2 separate regions of the Homo sapiens genome follow, and region 1 is linked to region 2. Evidence: promoter capture Hi-C in human tissues and cell types (Jung and others, 2019). All regions are on one chromosome and are shown on one strand. Each heading gives the region's core, a stretch centred on a gene start or on the middle of the fragment in contact. The rest is flanking DNA. Distances are from core to core; before and after follow the strand shown.

Evidence for each region. Contacts are between HindIII fragments. The study calls those that stand out against the background at their distance.
Region 1: a contact is called between a fragment that was not itself captured here and the fragment with the promoter of METAP1D in region 2, in 1 of the 25 tissues and cell types used here (lymphoblastoid cells).

What each region holds. Positions count from the first base shown.
Region 1 is chr2:170,947,187-170,953,444 of GRCh38, forward strand. It overlaps GORASP2 (golgi reassembly stacking protein 2), which reads left to right. Exons shown (of 10, transcript NM_015530.5): 2 at 1,164-1,244; 3 at 2,353-2,556; 4 at 3,018-3,104; 5 at 4,142-4,272. Among named protein-coding and RNA genes, the nearest start is that of GORASP2, 21 kb to the left of the region's middle. The HindIII fragment of the contact is 5,600 bases long and covers 707-6,258 here.
Region 2 is chr2:171,995,618-172,001,478 of GRCh38, forward strand. METAP1D (methionyl aminopeptidase type 1D, mitochondrial) reads left to right here and starts at 4,336. Exons shown (of 10, transcript NM_199227.3): 1 at 4,336-4,392. The coding sequence starts at 4,353. It overlaps LOC124905590 (a long non-coding RNA gene), which reads right to left and starts at 4,292. Exons shown (of 3, transcript XR_007087296.1): 1 at 4,062-4,292. RefSeq lists a silencer at 4,031-4,330. The HindIII fragment of the contact is 22,489 bases long and covers 1-5,861 here.

The sequences.
Region 1 (6,258 bases), core at 2,257-4,756, 1.0 Mb before region 2:
AGTATTCTCTGAAGCCATCCACAGACCTCAATTTAAGATCCCTGGATTAGAGGATTTCTGGGTTAATCCTAGTTTTCAAAGTCTATAATTCTCTATTTCTGTCCACACTACTCTGTTGTCTAGCTACGCATGCTGTGATCCTCATTCTTCAGACTCCTGCTTCGGGTGTTTACTCATACTGTTTTGTCCATTTTCAGATGTCCTTCCTACCCCCTTGACCATCTTTACCTTTGAATGTTCTACCCTCTTTTTAAACCACAATTCCTTATCACTTTTTATGTCTGAAGCTTCTTCAGTCAGAATTAATCTTTCCCTTAGAACCTTATACCAAATAGCCTTTAGCCTGTTTGGTTTTACATTATAGTGATTAGAGGGCTGTGTATCCATTGCCCCTTCCTCTTCTCACCTATTCCTCAACAGATTATAAATGTCTTGACATACGTGACTATGTGCCTGTATTTGCTTTGTAACTGAGTGGTGCCTTGCTAGTAGTAGTCAAGGAATAATTGCTTGAATTTGTCACTTAATTGTAGTGACTGTCTGCTGTGTCCCCTGCTAATTGCTGAGAGGATTAGCCCCTTTCTCCCAAAAAAGGAGAAAGTGGTGCAGAAATAGAACCACAGAGGGAAAACCTCATATAGAAGATGAACTAGGCCCGGTGCAGTGGCTCACACCTGTAATCCCAGCACTTTGGGAGGTTGAGGCAGGTGGATCCCTTGAGCCCAGGAGTTCAGGACCAGCCTGGGCAATAAGGCGAAACCCTGTCTCTACAAAAAATACAAAAATTAGTTGGACATGGTGGTACGCACCTATAGTCCTCCCAGGTACTCGGGAGGCTGAGGCACAAGAATCGCTTGAATCAGGGAGGCAGAGGTTGCAGTGAACCGAGATTGTGCCACTGCATTCCAGCCTGGGCAACAGAGGTGGAGTCTGTCTCAAAGAAATAAAATAAAAATATAAATAGAAGATTAACTTAAAGAATGGGTAGAGTTTAGGGAGCTGGACGGGCATTATCTGGGAGAGATGAAGAGAAATGAGAGAACTAGCGTGTACTGTATTTCATTATCAGTGAAATTGGTCTATTTTTACTGAAAAGAGAGATTCGGCTTACAATTTTCACCTAAGCTTTACATTTTTTATTTTTGTCGTTTTTGTTTCCGCAGGTACAAGAAAATTCCCCAGGACACAGAGCTGGTTTGGAGCCTTTCTTTGATTTTATTGTTTCTATTAATGGTTCAAGATTAGTAAGTTCAACTTTCTGTAGTTTTGTCTATAGTATTTGTAATCTCTCAAAAATGGAATTTTTCAGATGACCTGAGATGGGTATTTATTAGTTACAATCATTATGTGTAGTATGCCAATTTATAGAAATAATCATGTATTAATAAACATTGAAATATCTATAATATTATACCTTATGCTCCACTGATTATCTTAGGGAAGTCTCTAGAATCAGTGGAGTCTTTTATATGTTAAATATTTAATTTTTATAAGCAGAAAGAAATAATTAAGATGTAAAAGATTGCTTTTTAAAGATGTCAGACTTCTGTTGGTTGTTGACAAATGGATTACTAGAAAGATTCATTCTCTCATCTCATTCTCTCAAACTCGTCAGTTTTCTTGGTGCTAAGTTTCACAATATATGAATAATGTTATTAGAACCAGACAGAGAGATGTGCTCCAAAGTACCAAATTAAAACCACTTTTTATACCTTGTTTAGAGTTTACCCATAATAAAGTTCTAAGATAAAGAAATTATATAATCTCAGCAAATTCTTAGGACAGTAGCCACTTGGTTGGTTTAATTTTTCGTAACAGTCTTAAGTTTTCGTTCATTACTTACAACATCTCTGACATATAAATAAAGGCCAACATCTGGCCTTTATTTGTTTATGAAATGAAATATTTAATATGCTGTTTCTACTTTCTTTTCTATCCAGCTCTTAATAAAGCATGTATTTAGAAATAGAGTCCAAAATTAAACGTTAACCCCAGTAAATGTTTTAGATTTTTATAATCAAAGTCATCACAACTTCGTTAGTAATGTGACTTCTTATGGCATATTTTGTTTTTACACATTGAAGCCCTAGATCATTCTAAATAATGTTGGGTTGCAAATTCCATAATCCATAATGAGCTATTAGAAAAAAGTCAGTTTCAAGTTGTTGCTAACGTAAGAGTTCTTAATTTCTTGACATTCTTTTACATAGAAGAAAATTTAAATGTTGGTGAAACCTTTGTTGAATGTTTTATTTATGTTGATTATTAATATTACTCTTATAGGGCCATAGGATGCTTAAGCTAACATTAAATTTTTATTTACTAAGGAATGTGATTTCTATGTGTTCACAGAATAAAGACAATGACACTCTTAAGGATCTGCTGAAAGCAAACGTTGAAAAGCCTGTAAAGATGCTTATCTATAGCAGCAAAACATTGGAACTGCGAGAGACCTCAGTCACACCAAGTAACCTGTGGGGCGGCCAGGGCTTATTGGGAGTGAGCATTCGTTTCTGCAGCTTTGATGGGGCAAATGAAAATGTTTGGCATGTGCTGGTACGTATCAACTGTGAACTGTTACTGGAGGTTCATGAAGCAGTGTGGAAAGATGTTTTAACAATGGTTGTTTCTGGCTTAATAAGATTGTAAGGATATTATTAATAGGCAATTTTTGCCAAAAATCAGCGTTCATTGCTTTTTAAGTATGGATCAATTTTTTTTTAAGTTGAGGAAGAGAAGCAAATGTACAAGTTTAAGAACTTTTTCTAATGATTTATTCATTATAAGATGTGTTAGAGTAGATAGCTACAAAAATATTTTAAATATTTGTTAAATATTATGTAATTTTTATGCTCAGAAGTTTAAAATATATTCTGTAGTTTCTGACATCTGACACATCTCTAGCAAGACAGAAGTATACAGATTTAAAAAATCAACATAATTAAAAATTGGACTATAAACCTTGGAAGATTATTTTATATATATTAATTTTAGGGTGTGTGTTTATGTCATTCTAGGAGGTGGAATCAAATTCTCCTGCAGCACTGGCAGGTCTTAGACCACACAGTGATTATATAATTGGAGCAGATACAGTCATGAATGAGGTAATTCGTGTGTTTATTCATAGTGAGAACTATATAAAATTTTCTCATTGAGGTTTGAGTTGAGAAAGATATTTGCATGCTTTGCATTTAGAGTTAAAATTTCAGTCTTTGCTGATCAAAAATAACTTAAGCCTCAGGGTGTTAAATGGAACATCTGGTAGGTGTCTTATTAGGTATAGCTGTGAGGAAAAACACATACTGTGCGGCAATTGCACAGATTTTATGTGTAATATACAGAAATCTTTGCATACCTGAAGTCTAAATCAAATTCTCATTTTCAATTGTTCATTGATTTCATTTTCTCTTCCCCTTTTTGTTCAGTGACAGCATTAGCTCAGCTATATTACATCCTTTTCCTTGTCTCTTAGCTAGCGGAAGTATACATTGCTAAATCAAAAATGAGAGAAAAGGCTGGGCACAGTGGCTCATGCCCATAATCTCAGCACTTTGGGAGGCCGAGATGGGAGAATTACTTGAGCTCAGGAGTTCGAGACCAGTCTGGGCAGCATAGTGAGACCTTGTCTCTACAACAAATACAAAAATTAGCCAGGCATGGTGGTGCATGCCTATAGTCCCAGCTACCTGGGAGGCTGAGGTGGAAGGATCACTTGAGCCTGAGAGGTTGAGGCTGCAGTGAGGCAAAATCATGCCACTGCACTCTAGCCCAGGCAACAGTTAGAGAGACCCTGTCTCAAAAAAAGAAGAAAAAAAAAAGAGTGAGAAATGAGGTGCCCAGACAACCAGGTCTTAATAATGGGAAGTAAAAGCAGAATATGTAGAACTCGGGTGTAAAAGAATTGTACTAAGAGTGCCAACTAGATCTTAAGGAACTGGCCATAAAGCCTTGTATGTAGTAAGTAGGCTTTGCTTGAATTAATATATTGAATTAAACCTGCTTGTGATTTTTATGTCTGGGGCAGGGCCCAGAATCTGTATTTTTTTCTTAGATTTCTCAGGTGATTCTGATAGCCAGGTTTGAGACACACTGTTCCAAAGTATGGTAACGTGAAACATTTTCTCCTGTGACACTTTTGCAGTCTGAAGATCTATTCAGCCTTATCGAAACACATGAAGCAAAACCATTGAAACTGTATGTGTACAACACAGACACTGATAACTGTCGAGAAGTGATTATTACACCAAATTCTGCATGGGGTGGAGAAGGCAGGTAAGGTCATTTTTTAGACTAAGTTATGACTGCTTAAACATACCAGTCAGATATGTTGCAGACATTGATTGTTTTTATTTTGAAAGAAATTACTGGTTTATTTTAAGACTCCTCTTAAAAAAAAGGGAAGAGCTAGTCTAGAATATTGAAACCAATTTTTTTAAAGTACATATCTAGGGAACATAGTATATATACTATAGTCCTTTTCTTTACTAACCTAAGAGCTAACAGCATTTCTTTTTAATTGAGAAATTATTGCGCATAAGCCATAATTATAGAAAAGCCTAGAATTTGGAAACATTCCACATGTTTTCAAAAGTTCTAATCCCATGCTGGGAAAAGGATAACTTAGTTGCTGCAGGCAGGAAAAGCTTCCGTTTGCTCACAGTATCTTTACCCACACTACCTGAGATTCTCCAGCTGAATGTTTCGCCACAAGTATTCTAACTTGTTGCAGTTTGAGAAAAGTAAGATAGATGTGTCATCCAAGAGTCTGGCCTATATGGGGCAATACTTGATCAAATTATCATTGTCCATTGCCCAGGTTTGTAAATGCCCAGAAATAGGATCTATTCGAGGCATTCAAAATTTATTCATTACAAGAGGCACTTCCTCATATAAACTACATTTGCAGAGAAGCTGCTATATTTGAATGACAAATTTTCAGTTTGCAATAGAAAAATACCCCCTCTCTAGTTAGAAGAATACTCAGGTCAGATTAGTACCACAAGAGTGCCTGCTGAGCATGGAATCAAACTGGAGGAAGAGATTCTGTGGACAGTGAAGACCAACAGCAAAGAACATCACATATTCTTTCATTTTTAATTATGTTAACTAAATTTGGCTACATTCTTTGGAAGACATTTTTTCTTTTGATGTGTTTAATACTGTCAGTTGGCCATTGCATTAGCTAGGCCCATACAGAACATTTTCGTCAGTCTGCCTCTGACCATGCATTTGGTCTTTTTGTGCTTCTGTTTTTATTCCTTCCTCAGAGGCTGACCACATTTCATTTATTAAATCTTATTTCTCTTAATTTCATTCTTAGGCTGTCTTTAAGTTTGCCCAGGGTCTTGCTGTTGCCTCAAGTGCATTGTCTATTACCACTTAATTACTTTGACCAATAAGCACCTTGTTTTCAAATGTAGCTACCTCTGAAAGGCCATAATTGATCACTATAAATTATTTAATCTTTATTTCTCTAAATCCCAGTCCAGTGAGAATTGCAGGGTTTTGTTTGTTTGTTTGGAGACAGCGTCTTGCTCTCTGGGCTGGAGCACAATCATAGTTCACTGCAGCCTTTAACTCCTGGGCTCAAGCTGTCCTCCCGCCTCAGCTTCCTGAGTACCTGGGACTACAGGTGTACACACTGTACTTGGCTAATTTAGAAACTCTTTTTTAGAGATGGGGCCTTGCTTTGTTTCCCAGGCTAGTCTTGAACTCTTCGCTTCAAGCAATCTTCCCACCTTGGCCTCCCAAAGTCCTGAGATTATAGGTGTGATCTTCCATGCCTGGCCGAATTGCAGTTTTGATTGTGAGGGAAGAAGGGAAGAAGGAACAAATAATTGTGAGATGAAGCATCATTGTGCATATCAGACTGGTAAAGGAGGAGCTAGGCCTGGCATGGTGGCTCACGCCTGTAGTACTACCGCTTTGGGAGGCTGAGGCGGGTGGATCACTTGAACTCAGGAGTTCAGTACCAGCCTGGGCAACCTGAAGAACCGTTGTCTCTACAAAAAATACAAAAATTAGCCAGATGTGGTGGCATGCACCTATAGTCCCAGCTACTCAGGAGGCTCAGGCGGGAGGATTGCTTGAGCCCAGGAGGCAGAGGTCGCAGTGAGCCAAGATCATGCCACTGTGCTACAGCCTGGGCAACAGAATAATAAATTGTCTTAATAAATAAATAAATAAATAAATAAATAAAATTAAAAAGGCTGAAGTTGGCTACTGCCTGCTCACCCAGCTTTTGGTGGCAGTGGAGAT
Region 2 (5,861 bases), core at 3,086-5,585:
AAATGATTGGTATAGGAAACATGACATTCTGCCAGCAAGTTAGTTGAGAGTGCCCTAGAAACTGTCTGCCTGAACCTATAATCATTCAAACATAGACGCTAACTTTAGAGGGGCCCAATCAGCTACTAAGACAGATCTTTGTTGTACATGCGGCTTATGTTTATGCAGAACTCCTAGTTCCTGAAAAGAATGTTCATTTGACTTAAAATATGTAAACAAGTAGCATACCAACATATTAAAATTAGAGAAACTAGAGGCCAAGATCGGAGATTCTTCTCCAACCACAGAGTTGCTAAGAAATGATCGTGAAATCAAATCAAAAGGCTAACTTTACGGATTCAGATGGCAAAACAAAGAGGCAGGGTCAGGAAGGGAGAATGAGGCCCCTGGGTCTAGATGACAACTGCGCTGAAGCTGTGTGGTCCCGGGGTACCAGTTTCCCCCAGCAGCCACATTATATCAGTTAATCTTACAACGTATTCACATAAAACAGCTTTTTATTAGAGATATGTAAGCACCTTGGCCCCTATTTCATGGTTTGTGCTCTTTCTTTTCTTTCCTTCCTTCCTTCTTTCTTTCCTTCCTTCTTTCCTTCCCTTCCTTCCTTCTTTCCTTCTTTCCTTCTTTCCTTCCTTCCTTCCTTGCTTCCTTCCTTCCTTCCTCCCTCCCTCCCTCTCTCTCTCTTTCTTTCTTTCTTTTGACAGAGTCTCCCTCTGTCGCTCAGGATGGACTGCAGTGACACCATCCTGGCCCACTGCAACCTCCGCCTCCAGGGTTTAAGCTATTCTCCTTGCCTCAGTCTCCCGAATAGCTAGGATTACAAGTGCCCGCCCCATACCCGGCTAATTTTTGCATCTTTTAGTAGAGATGGGGTTTCGCCATGTTGGCCAGGCTGATCTTGAACTCCTGACCTCAGGTGATCTGCCCGCCTCGGCCTCTCAAAATGCTGGGATTACAGGCATAAGCCACCACACCCAGCCTGTGTTTTCAAATATCTTATAGTAATCCTAATATATATATATATAAATCTAAACTTGTGAGACAAATTACAAGATGATGTTATTTACTATAAGACAAACATTTTTAAAAAATTATTTACTTCATGTCACATAATCCCTTAGAGCATTTAAAAATGCAAATATTCAATTAAAAATTCAATACATACATTACAGAACCTGCATAATTTAACTTTTATTACAAACTACAAATTTAGACACACTCATGGTATAAGTCTATAATATTAAGTTCAAGAAGGAGGAAGGAAAAATGGGTTTTTCAAAAATATGCATATTGGAATTTATTTGATTTATATCTTTTATAAATAAAAAGATTTTAAAAGATGTGAATAAGACATGATCTTTTGAAAATCAAGGTAAAGACCTATAAAATAATAATCACAATCAAAATATTTTAACATTCAAGAATGAATTTTTGGACATAAACTGAAGGTATTAAGTTATCCTTTATTTCTTGAACCCTGGTTTTCAAAAGTTATTCAACTTTTTTTTTTTGAGACAGAGTCTTGCTCTGTTGCCCAGGCTACAGTGCAGTGGCACAATCACAGCTCACTGCAGCCTCAAACTCCGGGGCTCAAGCGCTCCTCCTGCCTCAGCCTCCCAAGTAGCTGGGACTATATGCATGTGCCACCACATCTAGCTAGTTTGTAAATTTTTTGTAGACACGGGGTCTCACTATGTTGCCCAGCTGGGTCTCCAACTCCTGGGCTCAAGCAATCCTCCTGCCTTGGCTTCCCAAAGTGTTGGAATTACAGGTGTGAGCCACTGCACCCGGCCGAATTATTCAATTTTTTATTCAAGAATCCTAAGTACAAAATCTGACTAATGGTAAGAATTCAAATCAGTGAAGTGCCATAATATAATTAACCTTCATTTCACAGATAGGAGCACGGACAGAAATGGAGTAGAGAAGTGACTCAGTAGCGGTTACTCATCTAAATAAAAGCACTCTAATGCTCAAGATCACAGAATGTTAAAATTGCAAGGGATCCTAGATATCAGTGATCTAGCCCTTTATCTTGTTGGTCACTATGTATATATCCCTTTTTTTTTTTTTTTTGAGAGAATCTTCCTCTGTGGCACAGGCTGGAGTGCAGTGGCAGGATCTCGGCTCACTGTAAACTCTGCCTCCCAGGTTCAAGTGATTCTCCCGCCTTAGCCTCTGAGTAGCTGGGATTGCAGGCATGCACCACCATGCCTGGCTAATTTTTGTATTTTTAGTAGAGACAGGTTTCACCATGTTGCCCAAGCTGGTCTCGAATTCCTGACCTCAAGTGATCTGCCTGCGTTCGCCTCCCAAAGTGCTGGGATTACAGGCATGAGCCACCACACCCAGCTTATATCCCATAAGTTGATGGTTTTGGCGGACATGTGCTGGCAGCTTTTAACCCTTCTGCGGTGAGAAGGATGTGTATGAGAGAAGCCAGATCCAGGGTCAGTGGATGAGCTATCACCTGTGCAAGTTCATATTTGCTTCATTTCTAGCTCATCCCAGATATCTACATTCCATGCCGAACTTATTGAGGATTTCCTCACTGGATTCCACTACTGCTGGTGCCACCTGGGTCCTCATAGTGTTTCCTTTTCCTTTTAGTTGTAGGGGAATAAAGCATTCATTTATTTTCCAAGGGTTGGCTGAGTTAAGTCACATGAACATGTGTTCTATTTCAGATGGGTTTGAAACTAGGCTTGATGCCTTAAGGAATAGGGATGTCTAGATTTCTTTTTTCTGTACACTGCTTAAGACTCTGTGGCCAGCTAACTCTCAGGCTCCTTTGCTGCACTCAGATTGCTGGCCTCAGTTACACAGAGGACAGATTTGCCACATTCAAAAATGCTCTCCCTGGAATTGAAATGAGTTTGCAAAAGGTAGGAGTACATTTTATTCTCATTCTTGTGCATCTTATTTACCCTGATGGAAAGCATTACTTCTCTTTATCTTTCAAGGTGACCCAAAAGCATCCAAAACCAGGTTTTCCAGAATTATAGCATGTGTCCTCTAATGAAATGCCAACATTCACTCTCTTTAAAAGTAAAAATATCAAGATTATATAGTCATTAAAAAGAATAAGTCTGAACTAAGTGTTCTAAGATTTGATGCCTATGATGACTGGAATGGAAAAAGCAAGTCATATGATTCTATTTAAAATACTTACATTTGCCTGTGTGTAAAAGGCAAAGATCTCAATTGAGCACACGGTGGTTAACTGGGGAGTGGGACTATGGTATGTACAGAGGGCGAGGAAGGGGCTTGCACTTGTTCCTTATTTCTGAATTGTTCTGAATTGTCTAGATTATTCACTGAGTGTGTAGTGCTTAAAAATTAATTAGAAGACATCACACACATTCACTGAGAATCCTAATCAATCTTCACTGCATTTAAAGTCTGGAAACGGTTACATTCTCAGTTTGACTGGTTTCATGCAGTGTTCAATTGCTTCACCTGACATTCCTCGGGTATCGGGTTCTGTGCCGGGCACGGAGGCTACTAAGATGAATAACACCTGGTCCATGACAGGATGGCATCTACCCCAGAACACAGGTAAGAGAGACAGTGAATTTGGTAAAAATGGGCACCGTCATCAGTAGGCATACATCAGCTCCCTCATCTGATTCACAATTGGCCTTCTGTAGGCTTCTTCTCTTGGCAATGCAATTGGCAGGCGTCATCCTTTTATACTTAAACTCCAAATTTAGGATTAAGACTCCAGTTAATACTGCCAAGCAGAAGGCGTCCTTGGAGAAAGAGAAGTCTCCTGAACATACCCACTGGGGTACCTAGAATAGATTTTGCAGCGACACACAGATCCTGTGTTGTCTGGAGTCTCTGCTGAGTAATGTAGATTCTGGGACAGCAAAAGGGGAGCTGGTGACTTTGAACCAAATTTTACCTTTCAACTGAATCCAGGGGAATAATTTGCAACAGAGTGGCAGACGATACAAAGTGCTATGTTGAACACTAGATTGTGCTTTATTTTTTCCGCCCAACTTCACGTTTCCATGCACCAAAATGTTGATGCTATAAATATTGGATGCCACGCTTACCTGACAGGCTTCTTCCATCCCACCTGGGCGCGGGGGCTCAGAGCGAGCGCGCGAGCCGCGGCTGGAGCCCGCCTCTCGCGGCTGGAGAGGACTCAGCCGGCCGCGGGTTCTGCTGCTTGCCCGGGTGCCCTAGCCGCTTCCCAGCCAGGGCTCCCGCAGTCAGCCCCGCGCGCGCACGCGCGCTCCCCTCGGGCGGCCTCGACGCCTCAGGGCTTCGGCAGGGCTGCGACTGGCCGGCTCCAGCGGGCGGGGCGGCGAGCGAGTGCTCGCGGCCACGTGACCGACGCCAACATGGCGGCGCCCAGTGGCGTCCACCTGCTCGTCCGCAGAGGTAAGCGCGTGGAGGAGAGCCCCGTGAGGGTTCGCACGGTTGCTCACTAGGTACGCACCCGGGTCCAAAGGGATGCGCACCCGCGCTCAGACTTCTCGGCGCACACGACTGTACTTTCAGTGTTTACGAACACACGCAGGCACACACGATGACACATTCACACACCACAGGATCACACATACAAATTTGTTCACTGATCACCCGCCTAGAACACGTCACCACGTGGCATCTTTTCGCAATTACTCCTTGAGATTTGCGGGCCATTGTCTGAAGTTTTTTTCCCCAACTTCGGTTGTATCATTAGTGTAACCAACATTTATTCTGTATGCCGAGCAAGGAAACCTATGGTAATTCTGAAATGCATCTGGACACCCGGTTCCCTTCCCTAGAGCTTTTATGCAGGCATGCTTTTTGGGGACTTGCAAAATGTGATGGTTTTCTTCCAGTGACTTAAAGTTAAGAAGATAAGAAAGGATGTCTGGGTAGTTCTAAGTAGGTTTTATCCTGCGTGAGTGTTGAGATTTTAGTAAATATACAAATGCCTTTGCAGCAGAATTGGGGAAATCTTTGTTGGATTTGAACTAGGTGCTGAATCTTTGTTGGAAAGAACTAGAAAGTTTTTCCAAGGACGGGGGAAGAGGAAAACTATCATATTTTGAGGAGCTACTTAAGCGTCAGGCATGTAGGAACAGTTTTGTGAGGTAAATATTATTTTCATAGTAACAGCTACTGTTTATTAAGTGCCTTTTAAGTACACGATACTGTGTTAAGCGCCTTACATATGCTTGCTTCCTTTTAAAACTCAATGAATGAGACCCCGTCTCTACAAAAAATTTTAAAAATTAGTCGGGCGTGGTGACACATGCCTGTAGTCTCAGCTATTCTGGGGGTTGAGGTGGTAGGATCGCTTGAGCCTGGGAGGTCAAGAGGCTGCAGTGAGCCGTGATCGTACCACTGAACTCCAGACTTGGCAATAGAGCCAGACCCTGTCTCAAAAACAAAAACAAAAACCCAGTGAGTTAGGAATTATTTTCTCTTTGCAGAAGGGAAAAGTAAGGCTAGAGAGGTTAAGTAACATTACTAAGGTCGCATAAATGGTAAGAGGCAGATTGCTCATTTGAACATGACTCTAATTTTTTTTTTTAAGACTCATTTCTCGGTACTGCATGACGTGGTCACTCCATAGAAGTCAGTGTGTAAAGTTCAGCAGAGACAGTGCAGGATGAGTGTGTACAAAAAGTGAAGAGAGCCTGGGCACGGTGGCTCACACCTGTAAACCCAGCACTTTGGGAGGCCGAGGCAGGTGGCTCACTTGAGGTCAGAAGTTCAAGACCAGCCTGGCCAACATGGTGAAACCCCGTCTCTACTAATATACACAATTAGCTGGGCGTGGTGGCGCATGCCTGTAATCCCAGCTACTCGGGAGACTGAGGTAGGAAAATTGCTTTAACCCAGGAGGTGGAGGTTGC